2 separate regions of the Homo sapiens genome follow, and region 1 is linked to region 2. The links are contacts of gene promoters, found by promoter capture Hi-C in human tissues and cell types (Jung and others, 2019). All regions are on one chromosome and are shown on one strand. The core of a region is centred on a gene start or on the middle of the fragment in contact, and the rest is flanking DNA. Distances in the headings are between cores, read along the strand shown. Region 1 has its middle 8.0 kb from the start of LINC02456. Region 2 holds the start of PMCH (pro-melanin concentrating hormone).

Region 1 (4,969 bases), core at 2,285-4,784, 75 kb after region 2:
CTGAAACCACCCAGAGCATTAGCCTTTATCTTCAACTCTAACACCTCTCTCTCAAATAGTTCTTTGTAAGCCCATATGGGGATGAAAATTTGCTATAATACACTACAGCAGGGGCAATGAACAACCAGTGATGTTTTAGAATAGAGATGTAAAAACTTAACATAATGATTATACAAAATGGTGCTGCTATTATGACTAAAAACAATAGTGGCTAACATTTATGGAGCCCATACTACCTAGTAGGCACTCACTTATGAACTCATCAAGTCTTTATGACAATGCTATGAGAAAGGTACTGTTATTATTTCCATCTTATTAATGAGGAAACTGATACATAGAAACATTCAGCAACTTGCCCGAGATCACATAGCCAATAAATGGAAGGTCAGAATTTGGGAACCTAAGTATCTAACTCTAAGATCCTACCACTTTAAATGTCTTCTATTGTATTTGAGGCAGATCAATATTTAATACTGAACACTAACTTATGTTCTTATTTGTTTAGAATCTCTGCTTTCAAGAGGAGAGTTGGCCCTGAGATCCATTTCAAAGGTAAATGATATAATGTGGTAGAAAAAAGCAGGTGTTCAAAAAGTCTAAGCTTTAGCTGAAGTTAGAAGATTGAGAATATAGATAAAATGTTTCTGAGAAACATTGAGAAATAATATGGCTTTTACTTACTTTACCAGAAAAGAAAAAGATTCCCTGGGGCTGAGAGGAATGAGGTTATATAGAGGAGAATTAATGAAAATGGGGAGTCTAGGAGGTCCCAGAGAGAGGGTCCTTGTCTCTTGCCTCCAGGCTGACAGACAAGGCATGGTGCCAGACTTTAGAGAAGCTTGGGTATGGGTGGGTGATATGACTTGGGCATCCTGCCCCTGGATGATAATGCCGTGTCAGCCTCAAAGAAAGTCATATTCTATTATTATTATTATTATTATTATTATTATTGAGATGGAGTCTCGTTCTGACACCCAGGCAGGATTTCAGTGGTGCGATCTCAACTCACTGCAACTTCCGCCTCCCAGGTTCAAGCAATTCTGCCTCAGCCTCCTGAATAGCTGGGACTACAGGCACGTGCCACCACACCCAGCTAATTTTGTATTTTTAGAGGAGATGGGGTTTCACAATGTTGGCCAGGCTTGTCTCGGACTCCTGACCCACAAGTGATCTGCCAGCCTCGACCTCCCAAAAGAGAGTCATATTCTTTAGTGTGACATGAAAACAGGAGCAAAAAGAATCCTGTTCCACTCTTAGTGTGGTGCTGAAGAAGCAGAGGAAATGGAGATCCTGAAATGCCCATTCGGACAGGAATAAGAACAACTTCTTGCTAAGCTGTGTGGGCTGATGATGGAAGACCAATTGGGATTGTAGATTTCTCAGTGTATGTCTGTGTAGAGAAGTGATTCCAACACTACATCTGCTCTATTCCCTCCTCCCTGCCAATATCTCAATACTTTGTCAGCTCCCTGGAACTTAGACACAACTGCACACAAGAGAAAGGTAGCTGAGATTCAGATTTATAAAATTCTATTGCTCTCTTGACATAGTTTACTTACCCAGATGTGCACTCTGAGATCTATGGCTACTATGTTTAGTCTCAAGTTTTTCAGGCTGTTCTTTAATCTTCCTAGAAAATTATGTTGTACACAAATTGTGAAGTTGATCAAGCATCTGCATGTATTTACAAATTCTCCCCCACCCAATTTTAGTTAATTTTCAAAGTAGGTAATATATGCACTTGGTACAAAAAAAATTCAAAAGGCGGTCGGGCGCGGCAGCTCACGCCTGTAATCCCAGCACTTTGGGAGGCCGAGGCGGGCGGATCACGAGGTCAGGAGATCGAGCCCATCCTGGCTAACACGGGGAAACCCCATCTCTACTAAAAACACAAAAAATTAGCCGGGCGTGGTGGTGAGCGCTGGTAGTCCCAGCTACTCGGGAGGCTGAGGCAGGAGAATGGTGTGAATCCAGGAGGCGGAGCTTGCCGTGAGCCAAGAACGAGCCACTGTACTCCACCCTGGGTGACAGAGCGAGACTCCGTCTCAAAAAAAAAAAAAAAAAAAAAATTCAAAAGGCGTCAACAAATAGACAATGAAAATAAATGTTGCCCCTCAGTCCTAACACAGCTATCAGTTATTTGTGTTTCCTGAGATATTATGTATACATATTATCATATATATATACAGTCTAAAAACAGACCTGCAATGATAGCATATTTTACACTCTGCTCTGTATCTTGCCTTTTCCTTGTAACAAGATGTCTTGGATACTATTCTATAGTTGTATTTAGCATTCCATTCTAGGGATGCACCATGATTTATTTAAGCAATCTCTATTGATGGGAATTTAGATTATTTCCAGTTTTTTTGCTATTACAAGTTGTGCTATAGTGAATTGTTTTTAGCTCCCTCTTTGTGCATTTGTTTGAATATATGTGAATGATAACTTTAAAAGTAGAATACAGGGATGATACTTACATGTATTGAAAATATTAACAGGTATTGCCCAGTGACTCTCCATAGGGACTGTACCAAGTGAAATTCTCACCTGAAAGTATGAGTGCCCATTTCCTCATATTATTAAACTCTTAAAATTTGTTCTCATCTGATAAATGAAAATCAGCATCTTCTTGTTTTTCCTTTCGTTTTAAAAAATGAATTTGTATTTTTGTCTGTACTCCTTTTTTTTCTTATCTGTCTATGACCTTTGCCCATTTTTCTATATTGATTTTCCTGAGCTTACACATTTTATGAAATTAGCCTTTTATAATTTGTATTGCAGATGCTTTCTTCCAATTTATTGGCTGTGCTTTGACTTTGCTTGCTTGTTTCTTTAGGTACTTAGACTTTTTATTTATATATAGTTGAATTCATCCATCTTTTAAAAAATGGTTTTAGTCAAACCATTCTCACTCAAGAGATTATTGTCTTATACCTCATGCTTTCTTTAGTATCTTTTCCTAATTTTATTTTTATGTTGAAATCTTTCTCAATGGAGAATTTGTTTAAAGGGAAAAGCAGACTATTAATTGCTACATCCATGATGTTCCATTTATAACTTTTACTTTAATTTTTTGATGAATCATGGGCAATGGAATAAGATTCCATTTTTTACCTTCAAAATAATATGTTTGAATCACTTATTTAATTTACTTGCAAAAATAAGTTCTGCAAGAAAAGAGTCTTCATTAGATTTTTTTCCCACTCCAAGAAAAGCCATATAGTCTGGTTGAGTTAATTGTAACAAGATTAGGGTGGGAAGAAGGTCAGAGAGTGTGTTTAGCTATTGTAAACTTTGTGAGCAAATGCAAACTATGGCGAATACAGTTTACAGTTTTATGGAAACAAAGACAATTCTCTAGGGCCAATGTTCTAAAAAATGTAGTTTCCTATAACAAAAATTTATATTCTCAACATTACAAGTCAACAATTCTTGAAATTATTAAAACAAACCTTTGAATATTATAAGAAAACTGTCTTATTCTGTAAACTTAGGCAGAAATTCAATGTTAAGATAACATGATACAGAATAAGTATAGATTTAATTTAAATTTTATGGTAACTGGTATATAAATATTCTCTGAACTTCTTCAATATTTAGCTAAAACAAAGGGCAATATCTAGTCCAATGCTTTGTGTTTTAAAAGCACTTGTGTCAACAACTCAAAGTTTCTCATTAAATAACATTGAAACATATTGCTATCATTATAACTATTATTTTAACCAAAGCTTAGTCAAAGACCTTGGCCACAGAATGATACACTTTAACAGATAATGAACCTAAGCTATATGACATTGCAAAACATGGCACTTTGAATTTAAATTTAACAAATTTGATGAAAACTCTCATTATTGATAGAGTACTTTCTGTTGCCACACTTACTAATTTTGATTACTGCCAAACTTTTTAAAAATTAATTTTAATTACGCAACAAAACATGGATACGTTCACATTTGAAAAAGACAAGAGAAGATAAACCTAAAGATCCCTTTGTTTCTACTCTCTTGCCTGATTTTCTCTTCACCAAAACCTCAACCTCAGACTGAAGTTTGGGGCTTATACTTCCAGAGATTGTTTCACTTCTTCACTCAACACTATATTTTTCATATCTATTTGTATTGAGACATTTAGATCTTGTTCATTTGTTTTAACTGTTGCACAGAATTTTATTAAATACATATACACATAATCACATTCCTCTGTTGATGGACATGTAGTTTGCTTTTGGTTTTTCATTATTATAAATAACAATGCTTATAACTGTCTACCAGTGCAGACTTTTTCCTAAAGAAAGAGTCCTGGAATTGAAATTATTGGTTTATAGGATATGAGCATTTTGAGTTTTAATAGATACTGTCAAACTATTCTTCAAAATGGCTGTACTTATTTATTCTTCCATCAGCAGTATATAATAATGGTGATTTCTCTACATCTTTTCAACACTTAATTTTGTCAAACTTCTAAAATTAGTGCTAATTTGGTGAATGTGAACAAGTATCTCATTATTTAATTTGCATTTTCTTGATTACTACTGAGTTGATTATCTCTTCATATGTATACTGGCCACTCAAGTTTCTTTCCCTGTGAATTATCCTTTGCCCAGTTTTCTTTTGGGCTGCTTTTCAATTTCTTGTAGGCCTGTACGAGTTCTTTATTTTGTCCCAAATATTAATCCTTTTTATATTATTTGTGTTACAGTTATTTTATCCAAGCCTAGTGATTATTTTTAAACTCTATTTCTTGTGTCTTAAGTAGAGCAGGATATTGCATAGTGGTTAAGAGTATGGGCTTTAAAAGCAAATGACTTGGGTTTGAATCCCCACTCTGAAACTATTTGTGTGATCTTTGGTAAGTTACCTAACCTCTCTTATTCTCAAGTTTCTCACCTGTAAACTTAAGATTATAATAGAAATCACCTCACAGGGTTGATGTGAATGTTAAATGGCTTAAATAATGAATAGTCTCT
Region 2 (4,919 bases), core at 900-3,399:
GATTAAATGTCATGCATTCAAACAAATATTTCTTAATAGGGCTGACAAGTTGATTACTGGCCAAAGCTAACTCAGAGGTGCTATGATAAAATGAAAAGTAATAGGATAGTAATGTAGCTATATTTGTCAATCATATTATTTATAGCATTATTTTACTTTAAAAATTTGAATATTCGTTAGCCATTTTTAAAGTTTATTGTAAAGTTCTCGTAAATATTAATACTCAATATCATGTAATTCCTTTCCCCTTTTTATCTTGCATAACAGAGGGTGTAAATCCATCTGTTGGAAGATCAACAATTGGAACGAGTTTTGGAAATGTTCATCTGGACAGAAGTAAAAATGAAAAAGTATCAAGAAAATCAACCAGTCAGACAGGAAATAAAAGCTCAAAAAGGAAACAGGTGGATTTGGATGGTGAAAATATTCTCTGTGATAATAGAAATGAACCACCTCAACATAAAAATGCTAAAATACCTAAGAAATCAAATGATTCACAGAATAGATTGTACGGCAAACTAGCTAAAGTAGCAAAAAGTAATAAATGTACTGCCAAGGACAAGTTGATTTCTGGCCAGGCAAAGTTAACTCAGTTTTTTAGACTATAAATTTGTGTCTTATATGCTTTAGGTTTATGTATCTATAAACCATTCACCAAAGACATGCTTAATTTTTAAGAGATCAAGGTGTAAATTATGATGATTTATTATTTTGGTCTACAGTGTATGTAAGGTTAGTATGTTAAGCATTGTTTAAAAATACTAGTAAGTCATAATTATGCAGAATTTTCACAAAGTTTAATGCACAGAGAAAGCATATCATTTCAGTTACTGATACATCTTAACACTACTTTCTTTTAAAACAGACATTTAACATACACAAGTTATAGTAGCAGTATGGGCTTCTCCTCCCATTGGCAATTAAATGCTTTTATTTTCTTCTGAAAAGATGATGTGGACCAACAGGTATCAGACTTGCCAACAAGGTCGGTAGACTCTTCCCAGCATACATCTGAGCACTGAAGGAAGAAGAAAGTTTAAATTGTTTAAAGGACTATAATTATCACACAAAATTTATTAAGAAAAAAAGAATGGATCTAGTATAACTAATTCTGAGTAAACCAAAATGATAATAATTAATTGTTGCTATTTAATCCCACATTTTTGGCAGGTGTAATTGAGCCATGGTCTTATTTGATTTTGTTATGATTGCATCCAAATTCACTTTAACTCAGAGTTCTGTTTAATGGTGGTAGGATGTAAGAATTGAATTTTGAAAAGACTACTCACTGTCAAAATCTCTCCTTCCTATAGGAAATTTAGCTGAGTTTTCTTCATCCCCAATTTCTCTCTTTTCTTGTGTTGATTCAGTATTCTGAACTCCATTCTCAGCTGGGAAAGCTACAGATCCTTTTAGTGCAAGATAAGGTTTTATAGCCAGATTCAGTGGCAGACCATGATTTAAGAAATTATGTTTGGAGCCTGTGTTCTGTAAAGAGAAGGTTGATTTGGTTTTTAGCTATCGTATTCGGAGTGGAACTATAATACAATTGTATAATATTCTTGTTGATCAATTCAAAGTTACTCTGCACTGTTTTTGACTTTTTAAAAATACCTTAGATGCAAATTTATAGGAGAAAAAACACTTTCAGATAAGAGGTGTTTGCTGGGATGGAAGAACTACCTGGCATGTAAGAAATATCGTCAGTCGTCCTAATGCATATTGTGACTGTTTGCATATACTTCTGTTTATAAAAGTATCAGTTTTACTTTTCAGAGGATTTGTAAGAATCATTTAAATTTTCATTGAAATAAACGACAAGTCACATTGCCACTTACCTTTGAAACTTTATTTTCCTCTTCGTTCATGAAACTGCTCTCATCATTTTTATATTGTTCCAGGGAAGGAGCAATAACTGATTTTTCTGCAGTGTCTTCCTTCTGAAAGCCTTTCCCCAACCTGAATGTATTAAATACCATGTCATCATCTAAATTTCTTATGGACTTGGATGCTGAAAGTAAAATACCTTGAGAAAACAAAGAAAAAGTTAGTATTAATATATAGGAAGAGAGATTCATTTTTGCCATTCTTAGTTTGATGTTTGCATACAGTCAAACAAGAAAGAAAATGAAAAATTTCTCTGTCAGCCTGCTTGGTAAACGATTCTGTATCTTTATATATTTTCTAGCTTGAATAGAAAGCACTTCAAAGAATTATACTTTTCATCATTTTAGAAATGACTCATTAGATTGAGGCTAACCTTTATGCAGCTGCTAATACCTACATTGTTTTGGTTTTAGTGACACATTGTTTATTTTGAGTGTGAATTTTCTCAGAATCTGACTAAGATCCTTGGTAGAATGCTTTCTGTTGAGTAGATTATAGTCTCTTGAAAATGGGTTGTTATTAAGGAAGACCACAGGACATCAGGCTCTCTCTATATTATTGTTTCCTTTTGTGTATTTTCTGATTAAGTAAAGATATTAAAACTCAAGTTATTTCACTCAAGGATGATAAGGATAAAGTTTTATTTCCTTTTAATCCTGATTAAACTGAAATAATCCTCAAAAGAGACTTTCTTTTATAAATACTTGATATAGTTTTTGGTGATTAAAGTACATATGCCTGTCAGTGTGAACAAAAAGCCATTCATGCTATATCAAAAATTGACCTGTCAGGTGTATTTTATCTCTGCATTTACAAAAGGATAATATGTACAAATATTTATTAATGAATTTAGAAATTAATGAATTAGTCCATGAAAAGAATATTTATGTGCCCATAAACATTACTTTTGGATGATGAGTTTATGTTGTATGACTTTTAATTAAACATTTCAGAGTTAATTTCTAATTTTGACCCCAATGAATAAGATAATACATTCTTTTATATGTCTTCTGGTACATATATGTAAGAATTTTTCTAGAGTATATTTCTCAGTATGGAATTACTGGATCATGGAGTATGTATATGTTCAGCTTTACTAATGCCAAAATGTTTTCCAACATAGTTGTAAGCGATTTGTGCCCTCGATAAGCAGGGTATGAGAATTTCCATTGTTCCATGTCCTAGCTGACTCTTGTGTCTCATTGTCCTTTTAATTTGTATTTTCCTAATTACCAAAGAGGTTAAGTGTCTTCCCATATGTTTCTGAGCCATTTATGTTTCCTCTTATGTTAAATGCTTTTTTTTTTTTTCTTTTTTGGCTTTGTCCATTTTTCTATTGGGTTGTCTTTTTCTAATTTATTTATGGGAGTTCTTTATATATTCTGGATATTAATTGTTAGTTATATATGTTTCAATTATTTTCGCTCAGTTTGTGACATATTTTCAACCCCTCTGGTGTCTTTTGGTGAACCAAACTGATTAATTTTAATGTTTAAATATTTTTCTTTTTTCTTTATGGCAACTACTTTTAATGTGTTGTTTTTTTTTAGAAATCCTTCTCAATCCTTAGATTATTAACGTGTTTTCATATATTTTCTTCTAAAAGTTTAAATATTTTGACTTTCATGTTTAGGTTTGTAATTCATCTGTAATTTTGTGTATGATATAAGATAGAGATGTAATTTTACTTTTTCCAATGTCCTTATATATTTCTTGAAGAAGTCATCCTGTCCCCACTAATCTGCAGTGCCATCTCTACAGTATATCAGATTTCTATATATGTGTGGGCTCCTTTCAGAACGTTCTATTCCACAGCCAAATCTACAGTATTAATATAACTTTAAAATAATTTTTAATATCTGGTCAAATTTCCCAGCCCTCTACTTACCCACATGTTTTTCTTTTACAGCAGTTCCTTAGCTATTCTTAGTCATTTCTTTTCCATATAAATCTTAAAATCAGCTTTTCAAGTTCCGTAAGAACACTTGACAGGATATTAAGGTTCTAGTTAGGTATCCCTTATCTGAAATGCTTAGGACCAGAAGTATTTTTGGATTTGGGATATTTTTTTCAGAATTTGGAACATTTGCATTATATCAGTTAAGTATCCCAAAATCTGAAATCTGAAATGCTTCAATGAATATATATTTTTTAGCATATTGTTAATGCTTAACAAGTTTCAGATTTTGGAGCATTTTTGGATTTTGGCTTTTCAGATTTGGGATGCTCAACTTATAATCACATTGGTTTTATAGATTTATAGATTAATTTTGGAGAAGAACTGATATCCTGAAGGTAATTTATTATCTATGAGCATGACATTTTTCTGTATTTGCTTAGATCTTCTTTAATCTTTTTTTCTTCTTTAATCTTTTAATGACATTTTCTTTTCTTCATAAAGGTCTTGCATACCTTTGTTGAGAGAATTATAATTCTTTATAATTTAATTGAATTTCTTATTTTTGGTTATTATAAATTGTATTTTGAAATGATCTTTCTAACATTATTGCTGGTATGTGCATGTGCATTTGGCTTGTGCATAGTAATTTGATAACAGAAAAAAACTTTCTAAACTCTTATTTTTTTTTCTTTTTAATTGTTTATAAATGTATAGATTCTTTGGGATTTTGTATGAAGACAATTGATATAAATGATAAAATAATGGCATTTTATCTCTTTCTCCTAACTTCATCTATATTGTGTATACATGTCTTTGTGTCTGTTCATGTGTTCATACACACTGGCCAAAGCCTCCAGTAAATACTGAAAATGGAGAGAAGAGATATCTTTACAGTGTTACTGATTTTACAGATAATGATTTTAATGCTTCACCACTGAGCGTAATGTTTGCTGTAGGTTTCTTATAGATACTTGCTATAAAGTACAGGATGTTCTCTTTTGTTTCTGGCTTACTAATAGTTTTTATCATGAATTGTTGTTGAATATTATTGAATGCTTTTTTTGCATATATTGAGATGACCAGATCATTTTCTCCTTCAGTCTTTGGAAATATTAACAGATTTTTCTAATGT

The links. The method cuts DNA at HindIII sites, captures the fragments that hold promoters and counts their contacts. A contact is called where the count stands out against the background at its distance.
Region 1: a fragment that was not itself captured here is called in contact with the fragment with the promoter of PMCH in region 2 in 2 of the 25 tissues and cell types used here (aorta and stomach).

Annotation. Positions count from the first base shown.
Region 1 is chr12:102,269,095-102,274,063 of GRCh38, forward strand. No RefSeq gene overlaps it. Among named protein-coding and RNA genes, the nearest start is that of LINC02456, 8.0 kb to the right of the region's middle. The HindIII fragment of the contact is 6,539 bases long and covers 266-4,969 here.
Region 2 is chr12:102,195,684-102,200,602 of GRCh38, forward strand. It overlaps PMCH (pro-melanin concentrating hormone), which reads right to left and starts at 2,150. Exons shown (of 3, transcript NM_002674.4): 1 at 1,839-2,150; 2 at 1,290-1,488; 3 at 776-1,018. The coding sequence starts at 2,087. The coding sequence ends at 969. PARPBP (PARP1 binding protein) reads left to right here. Exons shown (of 11, transcript NM_017915.5): 11 at 268-1,837. The coding sequence ends at 608. The HindIII fragment of the contact is 16,025 bases long and covers 1-4,919 here.